Linked DNA regions of Homo sapiens: region 2 is linked to region 1. Evidence: promoter capture Hi-C in 16 types of primary human blood cells and fetal thymus (Javierre and others, 2016). All regions are on one chromosome and are shown on one strand. The core of a region is centred on a gene start or on the middle of the fragment in contact, and the rest is flanking DNA. Distances in the headings are between cores, read along the strand shown.

The links. Contacts are between HindIII fragments. The CHiCAGO score rates a contact against its expected background, and 5 or more counts as called.
Region 2: a contact is called between a fragment that was not itself captured here and the fragment with the promoter of KIAA1586 in region 1, in 1 of 17 cell types (total CD8 T cells). The highest score is 5.4, in total CD8 T cells.

The regions. Positions count from the first base shown.
Region 1 is chr6:57,042,921-57,050,436 of GRCh38, forward strand. KIAA1586 reads left to right here and starts at 3,773. Exons shown (of 4, transcript NM_020931.4): 1 at 3,773-3,856; 2 at 4,393-4,476. The coding sequence starts at 3,836. RefSeq lists a silencer at 2,531-2,825 and enhancers at 3,455-3,544, 4,361-5,238. The HindIII fragment of the contact is 6,924 bases long and covers 3,255-7,516 here.
Region 2 is chr6:57,405,787-57,413,302 of GRCh38, forward strand. All of the region lies in intron 7 of PRIM2 (DNA primase subunit 2), which reads left to right. Among named protein-coding and RNA genes, the nearest start is that of MIR548U, 19 kb to the left of the region's middle. The HindIII fragment of the contact is 4,227 bases long and covers 888-5,114 here.

The DNA.
Region 1 (7,516 bases), core at 2,523-5,022:
AAAAGCCATCTATGACAAACTCATAGCCAACATTATACTGAACAGGGAAAAGTTGAAAGCATTCCCCCCGAGAACTGGAATGAAACAAGGATGCCCACTTTCACCACTTCTGTTCAACATAGTACTGGAAGTCCTAGTCAGAGCAATCAGACAAGAGAAAGAAATAAAGGGCATCCAAACTGGTAAAGAGGAAGTCAAACTGTTGCTTTTGCTGATGATATGATCATATACCTAGAAAACCCTAAAGACCCATCCAAAAAGCTCCTGGAACTGGTAAATGAATTCAGTAAAGTTTCAGGATACAAAATTAATGTCCACAAATCAGTAGCTCTGCTATACACCAACAGCGACCAAGCTGAGAATCAAATCAAGAAATCAACCTCTTTTACAATACCTATAAAAATTAAATAAATAAATAAAATAAGGTACTTAAGAATACACCTAACCAAGGAGGTGAAGGACCTCTACAAGGAAAACTACGAAACACTGCTGAAAGAAATTATAGATGACACAAACAAATGGAAACACATCCCATGCTCATGGATAGAATCAATATTGTGAAAATGATCATACTGCCAAAAGCAATCTACAAACTCAATGCAATTCCCATCAAAATACTACCATCGTTTTTCACAGAACTAGGAAAAACAATCCTAAAATTCATAGGGAACCAAAGAAGAGCCCATATAGCCAAAGCAAGACTAAGCACAAACAAGAAATCTAGAGGCATCACATTACCCAACTTCAAACTATATACAAAGCCATAGTCATCAAAACAGCGTAGTGCTGGTATAAAAATAGGCACATAGACCAACAGAACAGAATAGAAACCCAGAAATAAAGCCAAATACTTGTAGCCAACTGATCTTCAGCAAAGCAAACAAAAACATAAAGTGGGGAAAGGACACCCTTTTCAACAAATGATGCTGGGATAATTGGTGACCCACATGTAGAAGAATTAAACTGGATCCTCATCTCTCACCTTATACAAAAATCAACTCAAGATGCATCGAAGACTTAAATCTAAGACCTGAAACCATAAAAATTGTACAAGATAACACCGGAAAAAACCTAGACATTGGCTTAGGCAAAGATTTCATGACCAAGAACCCAAAAGCAAATGCAACAGAAACAAAGATAGACAGGACTTAATTAAACTAAAAAGCTTCTGCACAGCAAAAGAAAAAATCAGCAGAGTTAACAGACAACCCACAGACTGGGAGAAAATCTTCACAATCTATACATCTGACAAAGGACTAATATCCAGAATCTACAAAGAACTCAAACAAATCAGCAAGAAAAAAAAAAACAACCCCATCAAAAAGTGGGCTTAGGACATGAATAGACAACTCTCAAAAGAAGATATGCAAATGGCCAACAAACATATGGAAAAAATGCTCAACACAGCTAATTATCAGGAAAATGTAAATCAAAACTACACTGCAAATCTACCTTACTCCTGCAAGAATGGCCATAATCAAAACATCAAAAAATAATAGACGTTGGCATGGATGTGGTGAAAAGAGAACACTTTTACACTGTTAGTGGAAATGTAAACTAGTACAACCATTATGGAAAACAGTGTGGATATTCCTTAAAGAACTAAAAGTAGATCTACCATTTGATCCAGCAATCTGACTACTAGGAAGAGGAATAACCACAGAAAAATAAGTCATTATACAAAAAAGATCCTTGCACATGCATATTTATAGGAGCATAATTCGTAATTGCAAAAATATAGAACCAGCCTAAATGCCCATCAATCAACAAGAGGATAAAGAAAATGGTGTATATACACATACATACACACACACACACACACACACACACAATGGAATAGTACTCAGCCATAAAAAGGAGCAAATACTGGTATTCACAGCAATCTGGATGGAACTGGAGACTATTATTCTAAGTGATGTAACTCAGGAATGGAAAACCAAATGTTGTATGTTCTCACTGATAAGTGGAAGCTAAGCTATGAGGACACAAAGGCATAAGAATGACACATAGGACTTCAGGGACTCGGGAAAGGGTGGGAGGGGGTGAGGGATTAAAGACATCGGGTACAGGATACACTGCTTGGGTTATGGGTGCACCAAAATCTCAGAAACCACCACTAAAGAACTTATGCATGTAACCAAACACCACCTGCTTCCTAAAAACCTATTGAAATAAAAAATACATTTTTATTTTTAAAAAATGTCCATACTACCCATACTACCCAAAACAATCTACAGATTGAATCCAATCCCCATCAAAATACCAATGACATTCTTCACAGAAGCAGAATAAACAATTCTAAAATTTATGTGGAACCACAAAAGACCGAGAATAATAGCAAAAGCTAACCTGAGCAAAAAGAACAAAACTGGAGGAATCACATTACATGACTTCAAATTCTACTACAGAGCTATAGTAACCAAAACAGCATGGTACTGGTATAAAAACAGACACACAGACAAATGGAACAGAATACAGTACCCAGAAATAAATCCACACACTTAGGGCATGGCTACACGGAGGAAGGGGTTTCTGAGCACAATACTCTGTGTGTGTTAACTTTGTAGTTTTGAAGTTAACAAGACCCTGGGCTCGCTATGCAGTCCGTATGTGATGTTGAACCCTTTACACACAGCACTAGACGGTTTTGAACCTATCAAAACACTGCTTCACTTAAATTTCACCAACTCCTTAAAATCCTAGTAAGTCTATGTTTTCCTTTGTTCCTATGTTCTCCTTTTCTCCCACTTTGTGGGTTGTCTGTTTACTCTGCTGATTATTTTTTTTGCTGTGCAGAAGCTTTTTAGTTTAATTAAGTTCAGTCTATTTATCTTTGTTTCTGTTGCATTTGCTTTTGGGTTCTTCATCGCGAAGTCTTTGCCTAAGCCAATGTCTAGAAGGTATTTTTCCGGTGTTATCTTGAGCAATTTTTATGACTTCGGGTCTTAGATTTAAGTCTTTGATGCATCTTGAGTTGATTTTTGTATAAGGTGAGAGATGAGGATCCAGTTTAATTCTTCTACATGTGGGTCACCAATTATCCCAGCACCATTTGTTGAAAAGGGTGTCCTTTCCCCACTTTATGTTTTTGTTTGCTTTGCTGAAGATCAGTTGGCTAATCAGATACCTCATAGCTCCTTTGTTGTATAATTTTGTGCATTGTAGATCAGGGTCAAAATGATAAAGGTGATTTTCTGGGACTACAGACTTGTCAATAACAGGTGGTCCTAGGCTGATAGAGGTAAACAAATAAAAGCTTTAAAAGAATATTCTCTGTTAAAATTTGCTTTCATAAATTTCATGTTTAAAATCATTTGTGAATAAATGTTAAAATAAAAAGGTGAGCCACGATTTTGGTAAGGCAATTTCTGAGCAAATCACACACAATTTTTTTTCATTCCCATTGATCTATTACATAGACGAATATTTGGTTGTGAAAAAGTGAGAGAAAGAACTCGGCTATTTTATTATAGTAGAGCAACACCGAAGGGAGACGACTTCGCTGTAGCTCAGAGTCTTTTTCCATTCTTCACCCACGCGCGGGGCAGTCGCGCGGCGCGGTCGCGCGGCGGGTAGGAACTACCATCCCAGCATCCTCTGCGGCGCGGGGAAGGAAGCCCGGGAATGAGAGAAAGAGGCTCCGGGGAGATAGCGGACCAGTGAGGGCTGCCCCTCTTTTGAAGCGGTTTTCGTCTCTTTCCGCCAGTGGCCTCCCAGCTCACGCAGGGGCGGGTCCCGGTAGCGCGAGGCGGTGCAGGGCGGGAAGGGGAGTGGTGGCGGCTGCGGCAGTAGGGACAGCAGGAGCAGTGGTGCTGTCAGCGCGGCCGTCGGAGACATGGGAGACCCGGGGTCGGAAGTGAGTAGTCGAGTGAGGGTCCTGGCGTTCTCAGAGGCGAACCGCGAAGGGTTTGTGTTTTCTGCGGTCTGAGGCCTGGTGCTCCGTCGCAGCCTCGGGGCGATACCTCTTCAGTGTCTTGGGCCGAGCCCAGCTCTGGGGCCTGGTGCGTGTCTGAGCGAGGAACCCGCAGCAACAATGGCCGCCCGGCCCCCCGCACGGGCCCTGGCGTTCGTTGTGGCCGCGGCTGGGCCAGTGGGAGCGACGTTTTAAGGCAGGATTGCCCTTCGGTGTTGAGCTTGCGTTCCTCCTGGAGTAGATAAGGGGAATTGTGAGAGGCTGGTAACTAACGCGTTTTCAGCGTTGGGTCCCTGCAGCTCCGCACACTCTGTGGCAAGAGCCAGAGCTCGAGTTCCGTTCCTAGTCGGGTTTCCGTGAAATTGTGCTCAGTTCGTTTTCCTCAAGAGCTCTCTGTCTTTAATTGTTCCTTTCGGAAACGCTCTCTTCCTACACGAATGTGGCTGAACAGATAAGCATGTTTTGGCTTGTTTTTATAGATAATAGAATCTGTCCCTCCAGCTGGCCCTGAGGCATCTGAGTCAACAACGGATGAAAATGAAGACGACATTCAGTTTGTCAGTGTAAGTAGCAATGATGATTGGGGTTTTCCCAGAGTAAAAGACTATGGTGGGCCATTATGTAATGTTACCTCACCTGGTCATTTAATGTTCATGAGTGTCTAATACATACTAGACACTGGAGCATGGCGCAGGATTGGGAAATTTACCAAAAGAGCTATCTGAGCCACCCCCGTAGCCATCACAAAGAGCACGTCCTAAAGAACGTGCTGTACACTTAATCTCGCCCCCTGCCTTTCATTTAAACTTAAGATAAAAACGCTGGTGTCTAAAACGCTGTTTTGAAATGGAGCAAGAGTAACTTCTAAAGGCGACACGGAGGAAGGAGCTGCTAATGATGAGCAAGGACGTAGAAAACAGGAAGGGTTGTGAGAGCCCAGAATCTTAGCGTTATGGTGCTTCTAACATGAAGGCAAATAGCTTGAAGATTTCTCTAACCTCTGAGATCATCATGTTACGGCATAGTACAGTTGATGCTCATAATGAAGAATCCTACATCACTGGGAACATGCTCTATTTTTCTGAGTTTGTTCCCTTTGAGACAGTAGTTTTCAAGCCTTAGTAAGTATAAACAGGCAGATTCCTGGGCCCCACTGCAGACCTACCGAATCAGAATTTCCAGGCGGGGGCCTAGGAATCTTCATTTTCAGACAAGTGCAGGGACATAAGGATTTCTGAGCACACTTTGGACAGAATGGGTTTCTAAAGCAGAAGGGAGTGTTTTATGATATATTTTGGGGTGATTTTCATCCATAATTGTTGGAGTTTTAGAAAGGCTTTGCGTAAAGTGGTATCTCAGCTCGCCAGGCAGAAAACAGTTCTGTCCCCAACTCGTCTTTTGGAATGCCGTAGTTAGTTGCAGTTTGGTATTCAGGCTGTAGAATTTTTCTTTAATGGAGTGTCTGTCTAATGTTTCTGTGTTTTTTAGTTTTTGTAGGTTTAGGGCGACTTTGTAAGTCACTTGTTTTTTAAATTAAAATTTCCTCCCTAAACATTGTTTTGTTAACATCGTTGTTTGTTTTTCGTGTTTTGTGTATAAGTTCTTTACCCTGTCACTTTCTGGACATATTTCCCAATTAATAGTGTGTGTATATTTTGTTCCTGACATTTGGAACCTTTCTAAATATTGATGATACCAAGGGAGATTGTATGCTGACTCTGCCTTCACTGTTGTTATGGAGTAAGCAACGTAACTTGAAATCAAAGAGCAATGGTTTCTGTTTTTGTAACGAGAAACATTTGGGAAGAGGAGTTCATGGGTCTTTAGGAAAAATAATTTTGGTTTCCTCTTAACTGGTATAAAAACAGGAATGATTGGGACAGATGATCTTGATGAGTTTTTTGTGCATCTGTATGTAGAAGTGACACACGTCTGATTGATGATCCATGTGCCATTGAGAAAGTATGTAGAAGTGACATACGTCTGATTCATGATCCATGTGCCGTTGAGAAACACAGATGGGATGTACAAAATTAAGTTTGGAAAAGTAAATAGGTATAGATTTGTGTAATATCCTGAGGAATAAATCATTATATTTTAAATTGTGAGTTAATATATAGGCTGTGTTTAGCTGAGGTTTAAAACTCTTACTTTAAATTTTATTTTAAATATAAAGATCCTTCTACATCTTTTCATACAATATTTTGTATATCCAGCGTGATAGAACCCTTTATATTTAACCCTGTTCAAAATAGAAGATCAAAGGTTTGACAGCTCTTATATGGAGAAGTGAATTACATGCTGTCAGTGTAATTGCAGTACCAGAAAGAATGTAGTAAAACATCCCTGTTGCATTTCAGTGGTGCCACATAAAAGACAATGATAACTTAATTCCACTTTGAAATACACTCAGAGACAACTTTCCTTTGTAACCCCATCCTATACTGGGCTCTACCAGGATATGCTTATTTCTCTGTGTTTTTTATAGTACCATCCAGTAAAGATGCAATGCTGCTGGGTATAGTTCTCTGCTTGTGGGTTCTTCAGATTAAAAGAAAAAAAAGTTTGTTACTTCTTGATATATTCTGGTTTGGATTCCTTAGTCTTTTCATATAAATGTTGATTATCTAGCCTTCATTCTGCGTTGTGGCACAGAATCCTCTTTGTGTTCTGTCATGTACCTAGCCTCCAAAATAAACAATATGCTGAAAGAAAGGAATGATAAAAGATTTGGGGATACAAAAAGAGTCCTTATCTTAATGTAAATTTTATTGAAATATAGTACCTATACAGGGAAGGTTACTTCCTCCTTGCCATCACTATTTTTGTACCACATTACCATTTGTCTAGATTGATTATCTTGTTTGTATTCTTCCCACATGCTCTCTTATGTGGTTAACCTTCTTGAAACAGCTCTAATAATGTTCCCATCTTGATGTTATTTATTGATTCCTTTGCCTACAGAATAAAATCTAGGATTTTGACTAGGGCATTTATGGCCTGGTCTATGATGAGGGTAGTGTATATGTAAAGAAAGGATCAAGAAGACTCAGAGTTTGATGTTTGGCTGTACAGTGATGTGGAGGATAAAGCAGGGTTATCAAAGAACTTCGAGATTACTGATAATCATTTCAGTTAAAAAAAATTGTACTATGAAATCTGTTATCTTTTTTTTTTAATGAGGTAGGGCCAGGGGGTGGGTTTTTCACTATGTTGCCCAGGCTGGACTTGAATTCCTGGGCTCAAGTGATCCTCCTGCCTCAGCCTCCTGAGCAGCTGAGACTGGCACTGTGCCTAACTGAAATCTGTATCTTTTTAAATCAATATCTGTGCTATTTCCCATTTTGAAAGGAATCTACATGGCTTTATTCCTCTATATAGATTTAGGCTCTTTGGGTTTTGTCATTATTATGTTTTTTTTTTTTTCCTTTTTACTAGCAGGAACAGTATTACGTATTCATGTACTCTGACTCTTTTCCCATGCCTCTTTTTTTTTTTTAGACAGTGTCTTGCTCTAAATTTTATCTAGGCTAGAGTGTAATGGCATAATTATAGCTCACTGTAGCCCCAACTTCCTGGGCTCCAGTGATCCTCTCACCTCAG
Region 2 (7,516 bases), core at 1,751-4,250, 360 kb after region 1:
GTATGTGTGAGAGGTGGCAGCCAACAGATTAAATTGAGAACATATATGAGAAATTTAATTGTGTCTGGTACACAGTATATGCTTATTAAAAAATTAGAAACCTGCCTTCATCATCAGTACCACCATCATCATCATCACCCAGCAAGCCAATTCTTCAACTAAAATCAGTTCAGAGTAAGCAGGGAGACATATAAACAGTCATCATATGTGTGGTCAATAAAAAGAGAAGTCTGTACCAGGTAAAGAGGCAGCACAGAAAATAGAGTGATGGACTTGTCTGGGGATTGCAGAGAGAGCTTCAGAGACGTCAGGTCTGAGCTGGATTTTGCAAGGCTCTCTCTTAGATGTAAGCATTCCCTTGACCTTGTCTTTTTTAGGGAGTAGGGAGTGGGGAGTAAGACCACTGCTTTTTTTTTCCTTCTTAAATTTTTTAAGTTCTCTCATTTCTTCCTTGTCCATACCCTTGCTGATAATGAGGCTTGACATCTATCTTCCTGCCTGCTCCATTCAGACAGATGAGTACCGTCCATGGTTTCTAATTCTGTACCTTCAATTTTCACTGCTTGTCTGTTTAATTGCACATATACGTTTAGGAATTTGTCAAGGAGTACAGAATCCATCTTCTGATTTACATGCATTGAGAGTCTTGTGTCTCAGAAATGAAAATCTTAATAAGGCTTTTCCATCTTTATCCGAGTGACAGAGAGAACCCTGTGAACTTAAGTAGGCAGTATATATACTAAAATTGGAGTGGTGCAGAAAATGTTACCCAACAAGTTCTAGGAGAGTAATGTGTAAGTTCAAATAAAAAATAAAAACAAAAAATGAAAATCGTCTGAGACTAGTTGATTGGAAATAACCAAGGAATGAGAGAATTGAGAATAACAAGCTTGGTTTCCCTTAAAATTTTAAAGGGGTACTAAGAGTAGAAGGAAATGTTTTATGAGACTCTTGCTGTTTTGTATAAAATCTTATTTTTAATAATTTTATATTTTTCATGCCTACATTTTAAAAGAGAGACCTAACATACAGTTATGAGACTTCAGAAATATCATGGAAAGTACTTATGCTCTGGTTGCGGTTGTCCCTTGTGGCACTATGATTTTGTTCATGTATAAGATTGTATTTGTTGAGTTGCAAAACAGCCAGGTGAACAGTGTCATTGAGTTTACTAAATTGAGGTGTGAATAAGGTAATGATCTAGAAAACAGATAACTGAACCTGGAAAAAGATATAGAAGACAGATTACTTGCTTATAAATTTGAAACAAAAGAATGGTAAACAAGATTGGTAACCCGAATGTTATCTTCTTTAACTGTGTCATCAAAAACTCCACAGTTATAACATTGACTATTAAAGGCTAAAATAATGGAAAGGAAATGAAATAATGTTCAATCTTTGAGGAAAAAATGAATATACCTTTTTGGATTTTGGCGGGGCAACTATAATCTCAAAGAAAGAGAATAACAATTTGCATTTATAATCTTTTCTTCTAAGTAGCTTAAAGTTTTGTAAGTATATTTTCATTAATCCTTTGGACTATATTTGAATTTTGTTCAAAATATTAAGAAGGAAATAATCTGTACTTCTTGTAGATGGCTGAAAAAATGACATACTGAAAGTCACAGATTTTTTTTTTCACTTAAATGGCTTCATTGTTTTATGTTTCCAGTGTGGGTTTTTTTTTTGTGTGTGTGTGAAAGCAAGTTTATTAGGAAAGTAAAGGAATAAAGAATGGCTACTTTATAGGCTGAGCAGCCTCCACTGTTATTTTTTAGCACTTTGCCTAAGGAATTTATTTATCCTTCAAATACGTATCATTTGCATATTGCGGGTTAGGCCTGAGGCGGTACACAGTGGCACACCCACATGGGGTGAAGAGCAGGGAGAAAAAGAGAATTTGAAACTGTGTATTTTCTCCTTCAATTTCATGTGGCATTAAATCATTCTTTTGAGGTCAAGAGCCTCTGAACTGATTAGTTAAAGAATTGGCTTGCTGGATGATGATGGTGGTGGTAGTGGTGGTGAAGGCAGGTTTCTAATTTTTTAATAAGCACATACTGTGTACCAGACACAATTAGATGTATTATATGTGTTCTCAATTTAACCCTGTTGGCAACGTTATGAGATGGTTATTTGCATGAATTTTGCAGAGAGGGAAACTTGGGAAGGTTGGGTAACTTATCCAAGGTCACAGAATTCTAAGCCAATGTACCTGTATCTGTAATTTTTATGCTCGTGATCTTTAATGATGTTACTCTCCCCCTTTGTGGGAAGCAGGCACAAATATTCCTTTTTTTTCCCCACTTTGGATACGTGTTGGTGAGCATAAATGTGCCAATCATTGTGATATGGCTTCGATGAGTGGAAGAACACCAGGGCTCTTGTCTCATGCCCAATTAGATAAGATGACATGGGTGCATGTGGAGTGGTTTTAAGGAGCGGAGAGTTTAATAGGCAAGACAGAAGGGAGAAGAAAGAAGCAAGAAGCGCCCCTTTACAGAGCCAGAGGGAGAGGGGGCTCCAAAGCTGAGAGAAGAGACCCCCAGTGTGGTGGAAACCTGCCAGGTATATGAAGAGGCTGGAGGAGACGGTGTCTGATTTGCATATGGCTCAGGTGATTGGTTTGACCAGGCATGTCATTCACATAGCCACCCACATAATAAATGCATAATAAATGCCATGAGAAAGTAGATTTGTTGGGGGAGTAAATTGACAAATCAGAAGATTTTATTGTGCTTTTGTACAATAAATAGCCTTTAGCATTTAATTTCCTCCCTCCACCCCTGGCCCTGGGCAAACACTCATCTGTTTCTGTCATGATAATTTTGTTTGTTTTAGAATTCCGTGTAAATTGAATCATACACTATGTATTCTTCTGCATTTGGCTTTTGTTGATCTGCATTGTGCTTTCGACATTCATCTATGTTGTTGTTGTTTTTAGAGGTAGGGTCTTACTCTGTCACCCAAACTGGAATGCTGTGGTGAAATCATAGCTCATTGCAACCTTGATCTCCTGGCTCATGGGACCTTCCTGCCTCAACCTCCCAAGTAGCTAGGATTATAGGTGCATACCAGTACACCTGGCTAATTTGTAAAATTTTTTGTAGAGACAGGGTCTCGCTGTGTTTCCCAGACTGGTCTCAAACTCCTCCCATCTCAGCCTCATCTATGTTGTTTCATGTATTGGTAATTCATTCTTCTATTCTTTTATTTTTTTAATTTAAAACATTTTTTCCATTCTTTTTAATTGTTAGGTAGTATTCCATTGTATGAATATACCACAATTTGTTTATCTAGTCCCCAATTCAAATGTCCACTTGATGGACATTTAGATTGTTTCCAGTTCTTGGCTATTATGAATAAAACTGCTGTGAATATTTGGATAAATACTTTTTTTTTTTTTCGAGATGGAGTCTCGCTCTGTCGCCCAGGCTGGAGTACACTAGCACGATCTTGGCTCACTGCAAGCTCTGCCTCTCGGGTTCACGCCATTCTTCTGCCTCGGCCTCCCAAGTAGCTGGGACTACAGGTGCCCACCACCGCACCGGCTAATTTTTTTGTATTTTTAGTAGAGGCAGGGTTTCACCGTGTTAGCCAGGATGGTCTCAATCTCCTGACCTCGTGATCGCCCTCCTTGGCCTCCCAAAGTGCTGGGATTACAGGTGTGAGCCACTGCTCCTGGCCTGGATAAATACTTTTAAGGAGGATTGCTGGGCTGACCAATAAATATGTTTAAAGTATGTTTAACTTTATGAGAAATTGCCAAACTATTTCCAAAGTGGATAGATATGTTCATCTCCAGTAGTGTATGTGTTCCAGTTATTCTACCACCTTGCCAAAAGTTGATATTGTCAGTTTTAAATTTTAATCATTCTAATGGATGTATGATGATATCTCATTGTGCTTTTAATTTCCATATCTTGAATATGTGTGTGTGTTGCAAATATTTTGTCCCAGTCTGTGGTTTGCCTTTTGTTTTAACAATGTCTTTTGAAGAGCAACAAAGTTTTACAATTTGATTCAGTCTATTTTATCAGTTTCTTTCTTTTATGGTTTACTTTTATTAAGAAGTATTCAACTGACCCAAGAGCATGAAGAATTTTTCCTGTATTATCTTTTTGAAATTTTATAGTTTTAGCTCTTGTATTTAACTCTATGACCCATGTTTTGGTTAGGTTTTAGACATGTTGATTTTTTTTTCCTTGTTGGTTTCCTTGTTGGTTTTGGCACTATTAGTAGAAAAGACTGGGCCGGGCCAGTGGCTCACGCCTGTAATCCCAGCACTTTGGGAGCCCCAGGTGGGTGGATCACATGAGGTCAGGAGTTTGAGACCAGCCTGGTCAACATGGTGAAACCCTGTCTAAAATACTAAAAAATACAAAAAATTAACCGGCTGTGGTGGCGGGTACCTGTAATCCCAGCTACTCAGGAGGCTGAGGCAGGAGAATTGCTTGAATCTGGGAGGCAGAGGTTGCAGTGAGCTGAGATTGCACCACTGCACTTCAGCACTCCAGCCTGGGTGACAGAGTGAAACGCCATCTCAAAAAAAAAAAAAAAAAAGAAAGAAAGAAAGAAAAGAAAAGACTTTTCTTTTTCATTGGATTCCCCATTTTTCACCTTGTAAAGAATAATTTGATCATGGGTATGTTTCTGTACTTTTTTCTGTTCCATTGATATAAATGTCTGTCCTTGTAACAGTATCACTCTGTCTTGATTATTGTAGCTTTATAATAAGTTTTGAAATTAGGTAGAGTCAGTGTTTCAATTTTGATCTTTTTCCAAAAATTGTTTTGGCTCTTCTAGGTCTTGTAACTATGCTAAACTTATTAATTTTAGTAGCCTCTTGGTAGATTATTTGGTATATTCTACATAGATGTCTATGTTGTCTGTGAATATAGTTTTATTTTTTTTCTTTCCAACTGTATGCCTTTTATTTATTTTTCTTGCCAATTACCCTGGCTAGGACCTCTGCTACGATGTTTAATAGAAGTGATGAGAGTGTGCATTCTTGTCTTGTTCCTGAACTTAAGGATAGATACATTTAGTCTGTCACTATTAAGTGTGATATTACCTATTGGTTTTTCATAGATGGCCTTTTATCAGGTTAAGGAAGCTTCTTTCTGTTTCTCGTTTGCTTTTTTTTTTTGGTTATCAATGTGATATAGCTTGGATATTTGTCCCTGTCCAAATCTCATGTTGAAATATAATCCCCAAAGCTGGAGATGGGGCCTGGTGGGAGGTGTTTGGATCATGCGGGCAGATCTCTCATGGTTGGTGATGTCTTCATGGTAATGAGTTCTCCTGAGATCTGGTCATTTAAAAGTGTGTGGCACCTATCCCCCCAACTCTCTCTCTCTTGCTCCTGCTCTCACCATGTGAAGTACCTGCTCCTGCTTGACCTTCCTCCATCAGTAAAAGCTCCCTGAGGCCTCCCCAGATGCAGATGTCGCTATGCTTCTTGTATAGCCTGCAGAACTGTGATCCAATTAAACCTCTTTTCTTATAAATTACCCAGTCTTGCCTAGGCCTAGTAGCTTACGCCTATAATCCTCGCACTTTGGGAGGCTGAGGTAGGTGGATTGCTTGAGCCCAGGAGTTTGAGACTAGTCTGGGCAACATGGTGAAACCTTGTCTCTATAAAAAGTATGATTAATGAATGTGGTGGTGCAGGCCAGTAGGCACAGCTACTTGGGAGGATCACCTGAGCCTGGAGACGTCGAGGTTGCAGTGAGCTGTGATTGCACCACTGCACTGCAGCCTGGGCCACAGAGTGAGGCCTTGACCATTTATTCATCTACTGGGTTGACAATATTGTTTAAATTTTTTAAAATCTGTGAATGTGTACTTGATTACATTGATTAAAACAATATTAAGTCAATTTTGCATTCCTGGGATAAACCTACTATGTCAAGGTATATTACCTTTTTTTATATATTACTGAATTTTTGCTTTACTGCCAATGAGGGATGTTGATCTAGACTTTTCCTTTCATGTAAGGGCTATCTGATTTTGGTATCAGGTAATGCTGACCTTGTTAATGAGTTGGGAAGTATATTCCTTCTTAAGTATGCAATTTATATAGCAGCATAGTATAAATAATACAATTTAATAATGTAATATATAGAGTTGTTTAAATTGCCAACATTTTTCTCTATTTTAAAGTTTTGTCTAAAATAGATCTTAACTAGGTTTGTCTTATAAGCTGGTTTAATATTTTATAATTAAAATATTTTTAATATTAAGATTTTTTGAGAACATAGGGAAAAAGCTCTGTGGTTTTAACAAATATATAAGTATGCTAATTTTAAAACACTAAGCCTTTTTGTAGAAAATTTGGAGAGTACAAGACTGCATGAAGACAAAATCATTATGTAGATTTTATTGTTGAGATAATATGGAATTTAACATTTGGAACTCATTTTCTTAACATGCACAAGCATTTTCTCAATATTTTAATTTTTATTAACAGCATGCTTATGACTGTGTAATCTATCACATGGATTTAGAATATTTGTCTATAATATAAGTATATTTGTTTTATTTATCTAATTATTGATATTAGACTTTTACCCTGTTAGCAATTTTCTACAATCACATATAATGCTGTGATGAGCACTTCCTATGTAAGCCTCTGTTTTTATTTACGATTTGTTTCTTTAGGTAGATTTATAAATTAAATTATTGGGTCAGAGGGTCGAAATGTCTTGAAGCTCTTGATACATTTATGGAACGGCTTTTATCTATACTACTTCAGTTTGTACTTCTCCACATGATATACGAGAAGAGCTGGTTCAACTCTTCAATTATTCAGGATTTTACAGTTAAATATCTTGGCTAACATGATGGGTAAAAGTAGTAACTTATTGCATTAATTTTCATTTCTTTAGTTACTTGGGAAATAATTTTTTAATTTTCTTGAAAAGTTTTAGACAAGTCACCCAGAAGAGTTATGCAACAGAAATATTAAGAGGAAATAAATATATGGGAAAACAAGTTCCTGTAATAAAAGAAACAGAAATGGAAAAACAAAGGCATAAGGCTATATAAAATCTGTATGCCATGAAGAAAGAGAAAGTAGTTTTAGTTTGTATTAAATAATTTCATTACGTTACTGGGAAATGGATAGAGTGATATAGAGTATAAGAACCATAGTCTTATCTTCTCCTTTCTTCGAAATGTACTAACACTTCATAAGCTTAATAAAAGAACCTCAATGCTTGTAAGTTAGTTTTTTGTGGCTTCTATCATTGTTGAAAGTTTCTGGGGAGTAGCTACCTGTTAACTAAAAATAGGTATCTGGAGCATGGCAAAAGAGACCACTTCAGCCTTGCAACTATGATATTGATCCACTCAAAAGCAGTAATTTGAAAGAAGTGAAAGAAAATAGCGGTGAAGCTCAAACTATGTGAAGGTAGAAAATTTGGTCTTTACAGTAAATTTGATAGTTGTCTAACAGAAACTTAGGGGAGAAGGAAAAAATGGAGGGGAATAAATTTGAATTGAAGTGTATTTT